Regions from separate parts of the Homo sapiens genome. Here region 1 is linked to region 2. Evidence: promoter capture Hi-C in 16 types of primary human blood cells and fetal thymus (Javierre and others, 2016). All regions are on one chromosome and are shown on one strand. The core of a region is centred on a gene start or on the middle of the fragment in contact, and the rest is flanking DNA. Distances in the headings are between cores, read along the strand shown.

Region 1 (5,968 bases), core at 3,105-5,604, 250 kb before region 2:
GACATACTGGATCGGGAACATGGTTTTGATATGTGCCCACAATGGAGAGCCTGCGTGCTGCTGCACTCAGGTAGCCGTTTATAGCCCTTGTTGAGCTTTCACAATAAGAACATGATTACTATTTAGAACCAAGGCAGCTATTTTCATAACCCACTGTGAAGCAGTTAGGCAGGTATTCTTTTGAAAGTAAATAAACACAGTCAACTACAATTATTTGGTTCCATTTAGCATATTACAAAAAGTAATGGTTTAATGATATCCTAGTGGTCCCAAATAAAGTACCACAGAAAATGATCATAAAATTTCCTTCTCACTAATAACTCTGAGACAAGTGTTATGAAAAGGCACTAAACCCCAGGAAGCCAAAGTGTTTTCACCTTCCCACCAGGTGACAATGTTATTAGTTTATAATTCTCTATTTACTAGCCATGAAAATATAGGAGCTTTAGAGGACAGGGCAGCCTATAATAGATTTTGTTTGTTCAATAATAGATCCTTACAACATTATCTAGACAGTTGCTGTAGTAAAGGAAATGGCCCTATAAAAGCCACATGACTTTCCAACTTTATGTCACATGTTCCTGCATGCTAGTTTATTAGACTTGGGGCCAGCAGGGCTGAGACTGAGGTAGTAGCTGAAGAGAGTTCTTCCTGACAGTAGGACCCTCCTGGGTGTACAGAGCCCAGGGGACTGGCAGAGTAAGAGAGCATAGGTACTCACTTCAGATGGACACAAACACACAAACTCTGTGTTTATTTTGGAAAGAGGTGTGAGCTATTACATTGCAAATATTCCCCAGGAGCATGTATCTAGCCTCCCGGCTCTCTATATGACACTGACAGAATGGGCTTCTTTGTCATCATTTGCTGTTGGTAGATTGGGTGCCAGTACTTGTAGTCAGGGAGACAGCTGTGCACATCTGGAATGATCCCAGAGAGAAGTCCTAAACCAGGCTTGACAATGGTGCCAGGGCACTGAAGGATGCCCTGTCCTCTGTCACCAGAAAAGCTTCTCCTCTGTAGATTTCTATACCTGCCCCTGCATTGCCACTAAGTGTGACAGGAAGAACAAGGAGTGAGGAGGCATTTGGATCCAGGTTATACCACATGCTTTCCTCACCTGTAAAATAGTGAGACTAATGTTTAGTTGGCAGGATTATAGTAAGCATTATAGCTCATTTATTAAGTATTGTATATAACAAACAAGAAGTGGTAGCTATTATTATTATTATTATTATTATTATTATTATTATTATTGAGACGGAGTCTCGTTTTGTAGCCCAGGCTGGAATGCAGTGGCGCGATCTCGGCTCACTACAAGCTCCACCTCCCGGGTTCACGCCATTCTCCTGCCTCAGCCTCCAGAGTAGCTGGGACTACAGGCGCCTGCCACCATGCCCGGCTATTTTTTTTTTTTTATTTTTTTTTTATTTTTAGTAGATACGGGGTTTCACTGTGTTTGCCAGGATGGTCTCGATCTCCTGACCTCATGATCCGTCCGCCTCAGCCTCCCAAAGTGCTGGGATTACAGGCGTGAGCCACCACGCCCGGCCGTATTAGTATTATTGTAGATATGAAGCTATTGCCTTTACTTTAAATGCTCTTTCCCAAATATTTGCCTGATTCACTCCCTATTCTTCTTCAATTATTCACTCAATGCTCCTCTTTTTAGTGAGGTCTACTCTAACCAATCGACATGATACTGTCTCAACATACCCACTTTTTCTTTCCTGTTCTCTTGTATTTTTTTCTGTAACACTGATTTGATTGTAATTATTACATAATTTTCTTAGTTGTGTTAATTTTTAGAAATTTTCTATAGCCTTTTACAAGAATTTAAGTCCGGAGACATCAGGTATTCTTGTATGTTTTGTCTACATAATACCCCATTGAAAAAAGCAGTGCCAGATGTATCATAGGTATGAATAAATATTTGTCAAATCCTTAAAAAATTACATAACTGTGAAATTAGTTAAAAAATAATGACATTCTACTGACTATTGTTTGTATATACATATGTATACATCTATGTACATATATTTACGTGTGTCTATACATACATATTTTTATGTTAATCTTACCCTTAATAACCTCAGAAGATAAGACACAGTTAGAAGGCACCTGACTTAAGAGAGATGACACAATTTTCCTGGTTTGCCTTATTTACACCTGTGTTCTCAAAATAATTGTTGCTAACACTAACTTTCTCTCTAAAAAAACGACCCAAGTCATAAGTTCTATGATCACCCTAAATGAGGATCAAAAGGAAAAGACTGATCTCACAGATATCCAAGAACAGTTCCTGTCTCAGTGCTGATGAATGAAGTATCCACTAGACAACCACTGGCACTGGCTTAAGAAATTTGTACTGGGGACACCAACATAATTTTTTATCTATGTAAAATAAATCTTAAATAGTAGTTATAAAAACAAGAAGAGCAAACTCAGTGTCCATAAGGCTTGTGTCTAACAGATAATTTTTCATTTGGTAAAGAACATTGTGTATTTATTCTGATATTTTTCTACAGTTTGACCCTGTTGTTGGTTGTAATGACTGCAACTTTGGGTGATGGTTTTAGTATTGACAGGACACTTTAAGGGGCTGCTGTCTTCAAGGTTATTTTGCCACTCAATTTTTGTGTTTTTTTTTTTCTTTAACTCTTGGTAATTTCTATGATTCTAGTAGCTTTAATATTTAGCATTTGGGGTTCTAGGCGAGCCTATAAGGGCTTGTTTAAGAGTTATCAGGCAGATGGCACAAATTTACCTCTTTTATGGTCCCAGTAAGTTGGAGAGGGAGAGAAAGAAAACCAACAGTAAGGGCCATGGGTTCTGAGTGACAGACATAAGCTACTCTGTTTAAATGAATCTGCAATTTTTGGAAGGAGGATCTTTTCTTTCTTATGTAACTTTCTATACTTATTTTGTGTGGTTTGATTTTAAAATGCCCTTCCTCTATCTTACTCCTCATTTCCTCTTGGAAAATTTCCTTTAAATCAGGAAAATATTGCTTTAGCAAATTACACTTTTAACAATGTCTTATCTTGCAAAGCTGGAAAATGGATTAAAATCTAATCTTCTTCCCCTTTAACCTAGCCTGGGTATTTTATATGTCACTCTCAGGGTAGATATAAGGATATCCTTTTCAAACTTTTGACTACATCTAAATAGGCCTTTAAATAGAACTCTTTAAAAATGTCCATTTTCATCCCAAGTTCGATATCAAAGTCAAAACTCTTTACCGTTTCTTCTAAAGACTCAAACTGTCTAACATCCTAAATATTTCTCTGCTAGTCTTAGCCTGGGAACCTTAGTGTCCAGTGACCTATTTAGGTTGGAACAAAGGGCAGCTGGCAGGGAGTGTGAGGAGCCCCATGTTGTTCTCAACCCCATATGCAGCTAAATTGCTGACTTTCCCACCTTCTAGTACTTCAAACACACATCACATCGACCCCCTACTATCAGTCAAATGAGGGAGGAAATGCTCACTGCAGAGAGAAGCAAATTTCAGGAACCAACTAAAGTCTCTGAATTATGCCAGTGATGTTTTCCAAATATATTTTTTGTTTTCCAAACCTCTTACCTTTATTTCAGCAAACCCAGTTGGTCCCAAAATTTCTCATCCATATCTAAGTCCTGAAGTCTAGGCTTCCAATATGGAGCTTATATCTAACACAATACCATTCTTGCAAACCTGCTTGGCAGTAGGGGAGTTTTTGATCACCTGTGACATAGGTAGAAATGATTGCAGGGTTTTTGAAATTCACAGGTAAAATCTAAAGGCTAAAATTAATGTGTAGTGTGACTCTTCCATCAAGAAACATTTTACCTGAGTTTCCAATAACTAGCAAATCTGATTTAAATATTTCGGCCCCATCAACCGTATATAAGAAGAGATTCATACTGACCAGTTCTAACTCTGGATTTTTGTGGCCCTAGAAATGAAAAAAAAATAGTGGAATCACCAAAAGAAAATACCATGGTTTAGATAATGCATAAATTGAATTCCTGTAAACTGTAGATTGTCATAAAGGAATCAAAAAATGTTTTTCCAGTACCATGATATAGGAAGATATTTAATATAAGTTCCTGTGAACAAAGAGGGAGTAAGAGTTATTTCCATTACTCCTTCAGGATTTCTTTACAATATTCAAAAGTCCTTTATTTTCGCCTCTGTGGAGTTTGTTTTATATCTCATAAAACCATTATCGAATAGAGAGAATAAAACTGAATAAATCATTTGCAGGTGGAATCTGCTAGAGCTAGCCACAAGTACAAAGCTTGCACAGGTGGGCGTGGCTTCTGCCAGTGTCATTGCTCATTCCCTTCCTCTGAGAACCCCCAAAAGCATTTGAGAATTAAACCTGGGAGCCTAGTCTTTATCATTGTGACCTTGGTAGTGATCTATTTTTATTGTTACAGGCAATGAAAGCTTAGAAGAAAACTATGTCCAGGACAGTAAGATGGGGTTTGTCATCAATGCCATCTATGCCATGGCACATGGGCTGCAGAACATGCACCATGCCCTCTGCCCTGGCCACGTGGGCCTCTGCGATGCCATGAAGCCCATCGACGGCAGCAAGCTGCTGGACTTCCTCATCAAGTCCTCATTCATTGGAGTATCTGGAGAGGAGGTGTGGTTTGATGAGAAAGGAGACGCTCCTGGAAGGTAATCTTTTCAGTAATCAATCTAAGTAACCTTGTGAGCCTTCCTGTGCCAGACAGATGGCAACTGTGGCTTCATCTGGTTCCATGGTTTCTGGGTGCCATGAGGATAGATACAACTAGGTAGCAAAAAGTCCAGGGATAATATCAGATGAAATTACCAAAGACCACACCACTTTTTAAGACATTAAAATACTTCTTTTTCAACACCCAATACCCAGTATTCTACCAGTGCCATCCCCTAACTCACCTATCACTTGACCCTTTTTCCAGAATGCTTGGGACCTTCCTGCAAGCCCAGGAACCTAAAGAAATTACACTTGGCCAGCAGAAACCTCTCAGACCTTGCCAGCACCAGGCCAGCATCTTTCTGATTGATTGACTATATACCATTCTGGTTATGAAATATTTTGAATATTACACCTGGTTAAAGAGCTCAGTATGCAAAGAGAACTAAGTCCTGCATATGTGTCCCTTCTCCTCAGGCTAACCTATGTTTGTGCTAACATATGTCTTGGAGCAAGAAAGGAAACAACTTTCTTTTTGGGATTGAGCCCCTATGGCTTATTAATCAAACAAAAAGCAGATGAAAAGTAAACCAAGGTATATACATAAAATCCTCTCCAAGCCGTTTTACATACAGTCTGCTCTGCAATACTTGTTTTGATACTACCAGTTAGCTCAAGCATAATTGGTACATAGGAAATTTTGTTAGTATCAAGAATAGTTGTGTTCATTCATAAACAGTTTCTTAGGAAAGGCATAATCAGAATGGCAGAAGAATTAACACCTTCAGGAAGAAGGAAAAAGGCCCTCAGCTTGGCTACCACTCAGCAAGCCCAGGGTCTTATAGGCCCTGTCACCTGTCAGTCTACGATGTCCCAGACTTAGAGCTTTTTAGAAAAGCATATGCTGTGTTCAAGTGGAACATCAAATCATTTAATCTTCATTGCTGTAGGTGGATCATTGTCTTTCTTTTACAGATAATAAAACTGGGTATCAGAGAAACTAAGGAACTCACCTAATGTCCACAGATTGCAAGCGGTGGAGGCAAGTGCTCTCACTCTGAGGCTTCTAATCTTTTACAACATCACACTGCCTTTTAGCAGATCCTAAAATTAGGCAACGTGGCTGGCAATCTTCTTTTCGGTTTTTGAGAAAGAGTCTCACTCTGTTGCCCAGGCTGGAGTGCAGTAGCACAATCTCGGCTCACTGCAATTTCTGTCCCCCAGATTCAAGTGATTCCCCTGTCTCAGCTTCCCAAGTAGCTGGGACTACAGGTGTGCACCACCACACCTGGTTA
Region 2 (5,895 bases), core at 3,198-5,697:
ATGAGGTTTATTAGTGAGTATTCTCAATAACATCTGTAGGGGAAGCAGGATTGGGGAGAAGGAGAAGTTAAACTGCAACGCAGTTGTAACAGAAGCCTTCATGGGTCATAAGGGAAGTTCTGGAGAGAGAAGCACCTTTCAGAGTTGCCCCATTTATATCCCCTTCTTACATAAACTAGTGGGACACATGTAGCTCTCAGTGCAAGTATACAACAAAGGGTGAGTGTCTCTGTCCAGAAGGGGAAACAGAACCACCCATCTGCTGCACAGATAATTGCAGCATTGTACAAAATAGGTTTGTTTGCATCCTGATGAAGCATTTAGTTACAGTTAGTCATTGCTTCTTCTTGAAGCAGCTTATCAAAATGGAAATTGTTTTTCAACTAATAACTTATTTCCATATCCCCCATTTTTTAAAGAACCTCTATTCAGAATTTCCTTTCACAGGTCATTAAAACTATAAATTCAATTTTTCCCAGAATAACGGGGCTTTCTGTGGCAGGGCCAGCAGGTTTCATATCTGCAGGATCCAACTTCTCCTTAACAGGTGTAGAGACTGAATATTACTGGACACAACTGAATGTCAGTTGTGATTTTTAATACCATTTCCAATGATCTGAAGTAAATATGTTTTGAACTCTGAAGTAGGCAGTGTGTATGTAGCAGAGAGTTTAGGAGCCTGCACTCTGAAACCAAAGTGTTCACCTATGCATTTTGACTCCATTCCCCCTGTGCTTTGGACTTTGGGCAAGTTGCTTTGCCTTTCTAAAGCTCATTTTCTTCGCTATAAAATGGGCAGAGTTTCATACTTCATAGGGTTGTGATCACTGAAGGTGTCAGAGGCAGAATAATGTGGTTATAAAGAGCATGGGTCTAGAGCCATGAGTTTGAATCATGCCTGATCACTTACTAACTTAATTTAGCCACTCTTTGCCTATGTTCCTATTTATAAAAGAGAGATTATAATAGCAAATCCCTAGGGTGTTTGTAAGGATTAAGTGAATTAATACAGAAAAATAGCTTAGAAGAGGGTCAAGCACATAGCAAGTGCTCAACAAATGTAAGCTCTTATTATTAAGGGTTTAGGAGCTTCAAAAGTGTGAATGAATTTGGTAGAAGAGGAGTTTTTGCTTTGAGTGACCCTACAGTCTAGTAAAGGAGAAAAAACAAGGCATAAGTATTAATAAAAACAAGACAGAATATTATAGGAATTTTAAAAGATGAACAAATAAAGTTCTGTGGGAAATAAAGGAGAAGGGTGTAAATTTCCATGGAAATGTGAAAAGAACAGAACTTGAAGTGACAGTTAAATTCAACCTTACACAGAACATGTAGAATGCATACTTTCTCATTTGGCTGGTTAAATTCCAAGTAATTTTATAATTGACCTAATTGCAAAGAGGTAGCTGAGCAGCAAAATATATACAATTCCCTATGGCTGTGGAATCAAGTGTCTGAAGATGGAGTTATGGATTTAAGAAACAGAAATGCTGCCACTCTGCCCACCCCTGCCATCTCCCACCCAGTTCCCTCCATCTAGGATTCCCATTGGTGGAGGGAGAAGTGGTTGCCAATTCTCACTTCCCTATTTAGGCAGATCCTCAAGCAGAGAGACTCCTGCCTGTTTTGTTTCTGCTGATATGGGGAAGTGGGTACCTCTAACCACTTCCCTAGGGAGCAGGCGCTACTGCTGCCTGAAGCCAAATATCTCTTCCCCGAAAAGGAAGTATAGATTAGAGAGAGGCCCTATTCTGGGTAGCTTGAATAAAATATAAGCCCTGTTTCTCAGTCTTTGACAGTTGTTAAATAGCAAGAGTTTGGAAATCCCTAAGCTCAGTCCCAGGGCAATCATCTGTATGGACAGTTAGTCCAGAGAATTGGAGAGAGCACAGGTTATGGAGTGGCCAATCTTCCTCTGCCACCTACCACCTGCTCCATGTCAGGCAAGTCCCATTTCCTGTCTGCATTTCAGTTCTTTACCTGTGGAATAATAACATTAGCTATAATTCTCTGAATGCTTGGGATGAGTCAAGCATATTTGAGGTATTATTCTTCCCTTTCCACAAATAAAGAAAATGGAAGTTAAATAACTCACCCATAATTACCCAACAAGAGTCAGGATTTAAATTCAAGTTTATCTCTAAAGGAGTTAGCACCCTTCCCTAAACCTTGCATGTAGTAGGTACTCAATAAATCACAGCTATTATTATTATTATTCCAAAGTGACATTGACAACAGTTATAAGAAAAATAAAAACAGCAGTAGGACCTATTGTCTTTTTTGCACTGCCACAATAAATATCATGTTAAGCTTTGTAGCTAGAACTATCTTAGAGAGGAACAGATTTGCTCTTATAATTACAGCCTGACCAGAACCTTAGCTCCAGAAAGAAGAGAAATTCCATTTATGCATGTTGCACTCTTAATATAATAAAGGAGAAAGAACACTGGCGTAGGAATTAATAGGCAACTTATACTCGTCACATCTTTTATGATTATCTTATTCCATTCTGGTGACAACCCCCTTACTTTATCCTAATTTAATAGATGTTTAAAAAGCAAGCTCTGAGTGGAGTAGTGATATGTTTGGCTTAAACTGGCAATGCTGACTTTAATGTGTTTAGTCCAAATTCCATCAATAAATAACCCAGCAACTTTTGGCAAGACATTTTGCTTGTCTTCGCCTGGAGTTATTTGTCCATAAAATACCGGTGGGATGTAGATCTTTTGATTTCTAAGGCTTATCTTCCCTAATTCTTTTGGCATCTTGCAGCCATTAACAATGGCTGCAGGATAGCCCTTGTTCAAGAAGAAACTCACCTCTCTGTGGGGTTGGCTGCTTAAAGTTGTGCTGTTTTCAGCCAAGAGTCTTTGTATATACTTATAGCTATAAATTTGATTACTCTGACAAAATTTGGTAGTAAATAATTTTTCTCACCATTTAGTCCTCTACTTTCATTCAAGAGAGTTCTCTGGAAATTTGAATTATGGTATAAACAAAGCAGAATCTTCATGATGTGTTCATTGTCTTTACATATATAGGAGATGTTTGCAGGGCAGTCTTGTAGTCATAATATTAACACTGCTGACTTGGAATTTATTTATTTTGCATATAGAAATACAACGAAGGGGCTGTCTGTCATCTAGGTAACCCCCAGTAGTAATCCAATAGTAATAAGATTGGGATAGTCTGACAAACCATAGGCTATGCTGAGTGGAGAGCCCTGAGCATTCATTTGTCAGAGAAGTTGAAAGATTTTCTCTGCAGGAAGCTGCCTCTTGCCTGCACAGGTGGAACTGTGAGCATGTGCCCAGTCCCATGAGTGGAGGGGATTTCTTTTATTTAAAGATACTTAACTATTTCTAGGCTCATGAAAGACACCAACCAGTAGTAGTGGTCCTAGGCCTAAGGGCTGTGTGTCAGATATCTCTGAAGTGAGGTTATATTGAACCAACACAATATTTTGTTTTGTTTTGATAAATTTGCAAGCTCTTGCAGTCTAAGCATGTCTCAGTTAAGCATAGTATCCACTACTCTGTATTTACCTGGCCAACTTCATTCATTCACGCTGTCTGCTGCTCCTCGAAACCAGGTGGTCTGTCATCTCTGAAAGAGTGGCTCCTATTTGCTGCGCTTTGCATCTTATCCTCAAAACAGAACTGTGAGTTAGGTATAACTCCTATTTATAAGTGAGTAATAGGCATCTCCTATTTATAAGTGAGTAAACTGAGACTCAAAGGGAAAAACTAGCCCAAGGCAAGATAACTAACAAATCACCACTGATGACTGAGCCTTAAGCCTGCGCCCTAATAAGTTTCATTTTACTTGGTTCTGTCTGTGTCATCTGGCCCCTGGACCTTTTCTGGAAAGTCTGCAAAGGACCACCTGAGCCCATGACTTGGACTCACTCTTTCATTCGAACAACAAGACACCTTATTGGTTTTATTACAGATATCATCACCTAGCCCTCAGCGACTCAAGGTGTCATTATTTTGCCTTCCTTACACCCACTGTGTTAATTTCTGGACCCCAGGTTTTCAAGCCATTGACAATTTCAGCGTGTCTGTAATGTCTCCTTAGTAATTATTGAAGGTACTTGTTATATTTAGCCAAGAGAATAACTGGGGTGGTACTAGGATAACATCTACGTTCAAATAGTTGGATATTCAAGAGTCGATATATGTCTATGGTTCCGAAGGGCAAAGCCAGGCAGTGTAGGTCCTGCAGAACTCCAATTAATCAGGGCTGCCCAGTAATCCTAATGCCAAACCCGTGCCCCAGAACCTCGATTTCTCCCCAGACACCAACTCCAAGTTCCTCCACGGGGATGTGGGATTTCAGTTTATGCTCTTGCGTCCCTCTGCAGCCACAGGCCGCAGAGCCCGCCCCCAGGGCCCCGCCCCCGCTCTCCGGGCGCTGGACGCGGGACGCCGTCTCCTGGCAACGCAGACGCGGAGCCGAGCGCGCCCGCAGGCTCTTTGCTCAGAGCTCAGCCCTACATAGATCGGCTTCTGCCATGGCCTCCAAACAAACCAAAAAGAAAGAGGTGCATCGTATCAACTCGGCGCACGGATCGGATAAATCGAAAGAGTAAGGGACCTCTGCCTGTCCGTCCCTCCCCTGGCCTAGCCCCTCGACCTCACCACTAGTTCTGGGGCTGCCTCCCTGCAGCAAACTGTGCCAGGGCAGAAGTTTAGTGGCCTCCTCGCAGCTTGTCTTCTCTGGTAAACCAGATCCTGGAGGTGCTCGCTCTCATCCTTCTCTCTTGCTTGTCTTGACTCACTTCCTTTCCCAGAGCCCCTGATTTTCTTGCTTTGGGTGTTCAGCTCCCATGGGTGAATCTGCCACCCCTCCTCTTCTTCATAGCCCTCTCAGGCAGTTAGAAAGGCCATAGCTTTCCTAAGAAAGAGGCATATCTCAAATACTTCTGGTTAAAGCCACATCTTCATGGCCCCGGAAATGATACAGACAGCGAGTGACAGACAGACATGGACACATTTCACCTTAATGGTGATTTTCTAGTTTGCATCTGCCCAGTCCAACGACTACGATCTTTAATCAGATATAGTCAGACGTAAAGTGGCTTCTAAACCTTAAAACATTATAAATGTATAGTTCATGTTACTAACATTTACTCTGAGAAAGTAAACAGACCCTCGCTCATGGAATTTTTATGGTGCCTTTGTCCTGGGCTGGTGTTAGGTGTTGTGTCTTAGGATGTACTTCCCCATGATTATTATTTTCTGTGGTCTGTTTCCCTAGGGATATCCAGTTATCCACAGCATAGGATTGGGGCTGTTTGAACTTACACCATTTCTAATGTTCATTCCCACTGTGAGAGAATCCCAGCTGCCCGCCCTGCTTCAGTGGGATCATTCATGTTCTTCATGCTCTGCCTGATGGGGAGGGCGATGCAATCAATCATTTCAAATTGAATTCTTACATCCTTGATGCCTGTTTCTCCATTTCCTTCCCTGGCTGAAGAATTCCACATTGGACTGATCCCTATGATTCACTGATCCCTAGGATTTAAACTCTTTTTCTTTGTGAATTCTTCTCCCAGACTCATTCCCATGTCTGTGAATCTCTAGTCCCTTAGTTCTAACCTCTCTCATAAGCAGGTTTCCAGTTACCCGGCAGATAATCCATTCCTTTTACTAGCTTAAATTTTAGATATTACATATATAAGTAATATTACATATATAATTTTATATAAATATTACATATGTAATTTTAATAGGATTGCTTTACTTCTGTGTACCAAAGTCAGGTCTTTTCAGCGTTGTCTAATGGCTTCCATTCCTCTAGGTCCAAGGCCGAGGACGCCCTTCAGAATCAGGCCTGTATTACTTCTCTAAAGTTACCTTCCACTAGCCTTCTCTCCACTCCCTGAGT

The links. Contacts are between HindIII fragments. The CHiCAGO score rates a contact against its expected background, and 5 or more counts as called.
Region 1: a contact is called between a fragment that was not itself captured here and the fragment with the promoter of ADGB in region 2, in 1 of 17 cell types (M1 macrophages). The highest score is 5.2, in M1 macrophages.

The regions. Positions count from the first base shown.
Region 1 is chr6:146,347,828-146,353,795 of GRCh38, forward strand. It overlaps GRM1 (glutamate metabotropic receptor 1), which reads left to right. Exons shown (of 8, transcript NM_001278064.2): 4 at 4,423-4,669. Among named protein-coding and RNA genes, the nearest start is that of RAB32, 190 kb to the right of the region's middle. The HindIII fragment of the contact is 152 bases long and covers 4,279-4,430 here.
Region 2 is chr6:146,594,525-146,600,419 of GRCh38, forward strand. It overlaps ADGB (androglobin), which reads left to right and starts at 4,448. Exons shown (of 36, transcript NM_024694.4): 1 at 4,448-4,590. The coding sequence starts at 4,517. It overlaps ADGB-DT (ADGB divergent transcript), which reads right to left and starts at 4,407. Exons shown (of 3, transcript NR_125860.1): 1 at 4,309-4,407; 2 at 3,546-3,647; 3 at 1-1,980. RefSeq lists a silencer at 4,249-4,543. The HindIII fragment of the contact is 3,644 bases long and covers 2,309-5,895 here.